2 separate regions of the Homo sapiens genome follow, and region 1 is linked to region 2. The links are contacts of gene promoters, found by promoter capture Hi-C in human tissues and cell types (Jung and others, 2019). All regions are on one chromosome and are shown on one strand. The core of a region is centred on a gene start or on the middle of the fragment in contact, and the rest is flanking DNA. Distances in the headings are between cores, read along the strand shown. Region 1 has its middle 16 kb from the start of FST. Region 2 holds the start of ARL15 (ARF like GTPase 15).

Evidence for each region. The method cuts DNA at HindIII sites, captures the fragments that hold promoters and counts their contacts. A contact is called where the count stands out against the background at its distance.
Region 1: a contact is called between a fragment that was not itself captured here and the fragment with the promoter of ARL15 in region 2, in 1 of the 25 tissues and cell types used here (stomach).

Annotation. Positions count from the first base shown.
Region 1 is chr5:53,463,742-53,466,441 of GRCh38, reverse strand. No RefSeq gene overlaps it. Among named protein-coding and RNA genes, the nearest start is that of FST, 16 kb to the left of the region's middle. The HindIII fragment of the contact is 4,049 bases long and covers 1-2,700 here.
Region 2 is chr5:54,309,143-54,311,842 of GRCh38, reverse strand. ARL15 (ARF like GTPase 15) reads left to right here and starts at 1,270. Exons shown (of 5, transcript NM_019087.3): 1 at 1,270-1,411. The coding sequence starts at 1,364. The HindIII fragment of the contact is 9,246 bases long and covers 1-2,700 here.

The sequences.
Region 1 (2,700 bases), core at 62-2,561, 850 kb after region 2:
TAAACAAAACAAAAAAAGAAAACCTTTTTTTTCCTCCTGTGTAAAAAGGTAATACGTGTCACTGCAGAATATTTGGAAAATATAATAAAAGAGAAAATTGAAATCATGTGTTTTCTTACCACCCAGAGATAGCCATGATTAATGTTTTGGTGCATATCCATCCAGAGTTTTTTTTTTAAATCTAAGGAGATCACCAATACCAGTCCAACAGGGCAAGCAGCGTCTTACCAGCAGAGATCATGGTATTCTGGAAAATGTAGGAGTTAAAAACACTTTTCACTTTTCAGGATTCCTGCCAACATTCAGGGTCTAGCTTTGAGAAGGAAGGCAGGTAGGAAGTAGACAAAGGTTCAGGGTTCTCAGCCTGCAGATTGAGTTTCAGGAAGGGTTCCAGATCAGGTTGTCAATGAAGATATAGGTGACAGGACGGAAGGTTCCTGGGTCTGGGGAAAGTTACCTGTTGCCAAGCTCTGTAAGAATACAGAGTGGGGTGATGGCTACTGTGTGCTTCCTTTTCCTGTTCGGACTATCTCAGGAAAGGAAGTAGACTTGGTTTCTGCAGATCGAGTGCTACAGAGGCTCCAACCTTGGGTTCTGAGGAAGAGAAAGGCAGGGAACCAAGACAAAGACTAACAATGTGCAGCTTGAAAGTGAGGTCAATTTATTTTCAACTATATTACACATGTTTTGGAAAAAAAAAAAAATCTTTACAAATACGTTTTAACATAGTGATTTTTTTTTCAGCCTGAGCTACTAGCAAATGTAACTAAATGTTTAAAGAAGCACTATAGAGTTGGGATCACTGAGTATATCATGTTAATGACTGTTCTTAATGGAAGGAGCAGAAAATTGTATTCTTATGAAAAGCAATTAGAGATATTTGAGAAATGTGTATTCTTGTTGCTCTTACAATAGCTCAACAGCTTTTTTTTTTTTTAAATAGCTTTCAGTCAAAGTGATGTTTTTCCCCAGAAAATTCTAATAAGATGCAAGCTACACATCGGTAGAGTGCCTGGTCCAGTTGTGGGTGTTCAATAAATATTAAACACCAGCAACAATCATTTAAATTTCCTATGTTATGTTTTCCCTAGAAAGGATCTCTTCAGCAGAGCTATGGATTAAGGATAGCCTAGGGCTGCAAGAAAGAGAGACATAGTAACTTTGCCCACAGCCCAATCCCACATATCAATGTGTCAGAACAAAAAGATCAGTATATGGCGGTAACTCCTGCAATCCTTCCCGCACACTGAGCTGCCTTTTCTTGCTATTGGCTCTTTATGAATAAAGAGTGGAATCAGCCTGCGATAAGCCAACTGAGAAGTACTGGCATTTTGAAAGGGATAACCTGTGAATATGGTCTTTGGTTTTACTTACATATTTACATCTCCCCAGGTCTAGCTGCAACTTGAGAAGTTGGAAATAAGGAGATAAGTATTCTTTGGCTCAAATGAAGGGCAGAAGTCAGTCTCCCCTCTGATCTGCAGTCTGGATCTCGTATCTGTGAGTTGAATCTCTGTTGCATGAGGAACAAGTGCAGATTGTGCAACAGAGGGCCCCCTGTGTGCATCTGACAGGAGAAGTTTGTTCCGAGTGTCATAGTGTTGTTTTCATCTTGATAGACTAGCACAGTCTGGTGAAATGGTTGGGGGAGGGTGCCGGGGAAAAGAGAAATGCCCAGGTAGCTGAACAATGAAAGCTTGCATGTTACATGTCAGAAATGAAAGGGAGCTCAGTGAAACCACTGGTTAGCTGAGGCAACTGAGAAAGTGGAGTGGGGATTTCAGGAAGAATAACATTTGCAAAGACTGAAAATAATCAAGGGAATCAGAAGCATGTACTTGAAAAGTGATGGGAAATACAGTGGTATGTCCATTAACCACAGCACTATCACCATCAATCATCTTTAGTCTATGATGAGAATTCAAAACTCAAGAGAGACCTGTCTTGGCCTGTGTCTATACTTCATGTTGAAGTATTTATTTTTGTCCTTGGTGCTAGTAGATGCTGCTGCTGACAGCATTACTATTTATGTGTATGAATGGGGCTCAAAGCTGCCAGATTAATGACGCACAGTACAATCTCATCTAAGCACACATGTAGACAGGCTGTCACCATTGGTGGCTTTGCCTGTTCACCTCTGGGGTTGCATGAAATCTCAGTTAACAAAAAGGTCCTCTAGGTTTGAAATATGCAGCACAGATCTGTTGACTGCTTTGCTTTCCCAGGAGTCAGAGTATATGCCACATTACTAACTGTTCAGCTTCTACACATTCTTCCCACTCCTTTTAACTTGGCTCTGCCTCTAATCAAGCTCCTTTGGCCTGTGGTTGGCACAGCTGCTGTGGTTTAGTGCACATGTCCGGTGACAGAGATTCAATGAGCAGAACTTAAATGCTGATGGAGTGACTCTGGAACTGTGTTTTTGGAACCCTTGTGTTTCCACTCATGTCAGTTCTGGCACATGGGTGTTGATGTGGAGACTGCTGGGAATGTGGGTGGGGATCCAAGTTACTGTTGGTTGTCCTTTGAACAGGTGCTTACAGGGCACAGGTTTAGTTGACTGCCTGGTGTCATGTCTTAGTCCTTTTGGGGTGATTTCCACCAGAAGGGAGCTTCTTGAAACAAGTGTCCTATTTTTTTAGGCTGCCCAAGCATCTCTGAACAATAAGTTTCCTAGGTGGTGGAATTTGCATTTAGTTC
Region 2 (2,700 bases), core at 21-2,520:
AAATTCAACTCCTAAAACATCGCGTGTAGAGTCAGGCAGTCACTTCATAAAGAGTTCAGTCGATGAAGTTTCACTCTTGAAACTTTACTGTATGTATGCAAGCCCTAACTATTAATACAGGTGACAGCATCCACCTTATCTTCCATTCTCCCTAAGCCCTGAGGGTGGGGATGGGGGGGGGGGCACTCCAATCACCTGAGCCTAAGAACATAGCCTAAGAACATGTGTCTGGCATGGTCTGGTTATTTATAGCCTAAAAAAAAAAAAAGCCAGCTTCTTGTCCGATTCAGGCTTTCCCTGCCCAAACCCACTAGCTTAATGCGATATTGACATTACCAGGAAATGCATACGTCCCAAATGCATCTGCTTATAGATGTTTTTACCTCCTGAAATAATACCGGGTCACAAATACTGTTGTGTTTTTTGCAGAGAGCTTCTACTGCTCATTTAATTCAGGGGCGTTGGATTTGTGCTGAGCGTAATTTGACTCCAAGCATGCAAACTGATCAACTTCTTCCCGTGTGTTTGGGGAGTACAAGTGACTACTGCGACTCCTCAAATGTTTTTCTTTTCCTTTTCACGTGGAGGAAAGCGAATTCTCCGAAGACTGTTCGGCGTTCTACGCAGGGGTTGGAAGGGGGGTTCCTGAGTCACCTCTGGCTGCGCGGGGGGCCTGTGTGTACCCTCAGGGACACCAGGCTGGAATCGTCCACCTTACTTTCAAATGATAAAAGTGCGGAGGGTCTTTCTGCCCCTAAGTCGCGTACAGGATTGCCTGTTTACGGAGTACACTTTCACACACTTCTTTCCCGGTGGTGCAGTCTCGTGGCGGCAGAGCCTTTAGGAAGGCTCTGGGGGGAGACAAGATCAGTGGCGACCACGCCTCCCATGTTACAGCGCTCGCTTCCTACTGGGGGTTGGCGGGGACACCAAGGCTCTCCAGCCCGGGAACACGGAGTTCGGCTCCGTTGTACCCAACTGGAAAGCTGTGGAAACACAAAACTCGGGCGGCGACAGCACCAGCCGATTTTCCGCTCTCTTGGCTCTTTCTTCCGCTTGCACCGCCCCCACCCCGGCTCCTCCGCTCAGCACACAGGAACCCACATCCCCCACCACTCCCGCGTTTCTCTCCTGCCACCAGCTGGGGCCTGCCTTTTATAGGCGCCGCAGCCAATGAGCACGCTTCTTTCCTTCTGCCCGCCCGCCTGGCCAATCGCCGCGCCCCTTGTGTAATCTCCGGCTAGTCGGCTGCTTTCGGCTATTTTCGCTGTTGCTGGCTTTTTCAGGAGCTGCTCGCTCGCAGCCAGAGACGCTGCTTTTTTTTTCCGGGTTCGGAGCCGTTCCGGATGCTTTAGGCTGCCGGATGTCTGATCTCCGAATAACTGAGGCGTTTCTGTACATGGATTATCTGGTAGGTGCAGGGCAGGGGTGGCATGTCGCCTCTCGGATCTCGGCGTGCCCGATGGCCCCCTGCCTTGAGGAGCAGCCTTTTTGCTTTCTTTCTTTGGGATAGGATGCCTCTGGGGTTCTTTCTCCCGCAGCCGGCTGGTAAGCCTTTCCCTGGACTCGGAGGGGCAGCCTCCAGGGCGGGTGGGTGGTGGAGCTGACAGGTAAAGGTGCGGCCTGGGCCAGCACGGCTGCAGGGCGAGGGTCGCGCTGGGGCTGCTTGAGAGATGGGGCGGCCGCGGCGGCGCGTCCCCTGCCCGCGATCGGCTTCCTGGCTTCCCTCTGCGCTCTCCGCAGAGGACTTTCTTTCCGGGGGAGCAGGAGTTTTCCTCTCTCCCTGGAGCAGAACTCCAGGTGCTATTAAAGAGCCATAACCAGAATGGCTCACTAAGTGCCCAGCAGCCCTGGTCATTTGATTGTTATTAAATCTCTAAAGCTATGACCTCGGTCGTGGCGGGGTTTTAAAAGCACATTACCATAAAGCAGACGGGTCTAAACTACCTCGCAGGCTGGCACGAACAGGACTGAGTAGGGACAGGTATAGCCCCACCATTCCGGTCTTGGGTGCGTGCCGCGGTTCCACTGTGCACGGATTGGAACCCGGCTGTTTAGGCCAGGCTTGTGCTGAGAAGTTTAGGTGGGAAAAGTGTCAGCACAGTGCTGGGACCGAACATCATTTTAAAAATGGACTTCTATGTGTCTTTGTGGAATTATGCGAGCACCATGTTTTGTTCCAGAAATTATATTTCCCCAGAGTTGCTTGTTTGCGTTTAAGGGGATCCTCATTTACAGAGACTTGTGTTCGATCCTATACGATTATTGTGTTTACCATGTTGGGCAGAACCGCTATTGCCATGCAGAGTTGAAGTAGACGGTTAGAAACATTGACCCTCCTGTCATCTTGTTGGACACATGCACTCGGTTTTCGACTGCAGATTGGCCTGGCAGAGATTTGCCAGTGCCTTCTAGGAATTACACTTAAGGCTGTACTGAGAAAGTCTGTGCATGCTTTGATGGCCAAGAAACGCCGGACCGGCTTTGTGCTGTTATCTGTGTATTTGGGCTTATTTTAGTGTACATAAAGAAAATGTTTCTCCTAATGCTTCAGAGCTTGATGGTCTTGTGGGAAAGGATGGTGACTGCAGTTAATGCATAGCCTTGTGAATGGAGCTGGATCTAAAATTCTGAATTCAAGTTCTGTTTTGTTGTTCATTTGTTGATGGCAGTAACTTCCTTTATCTTTGTGATAAAGGG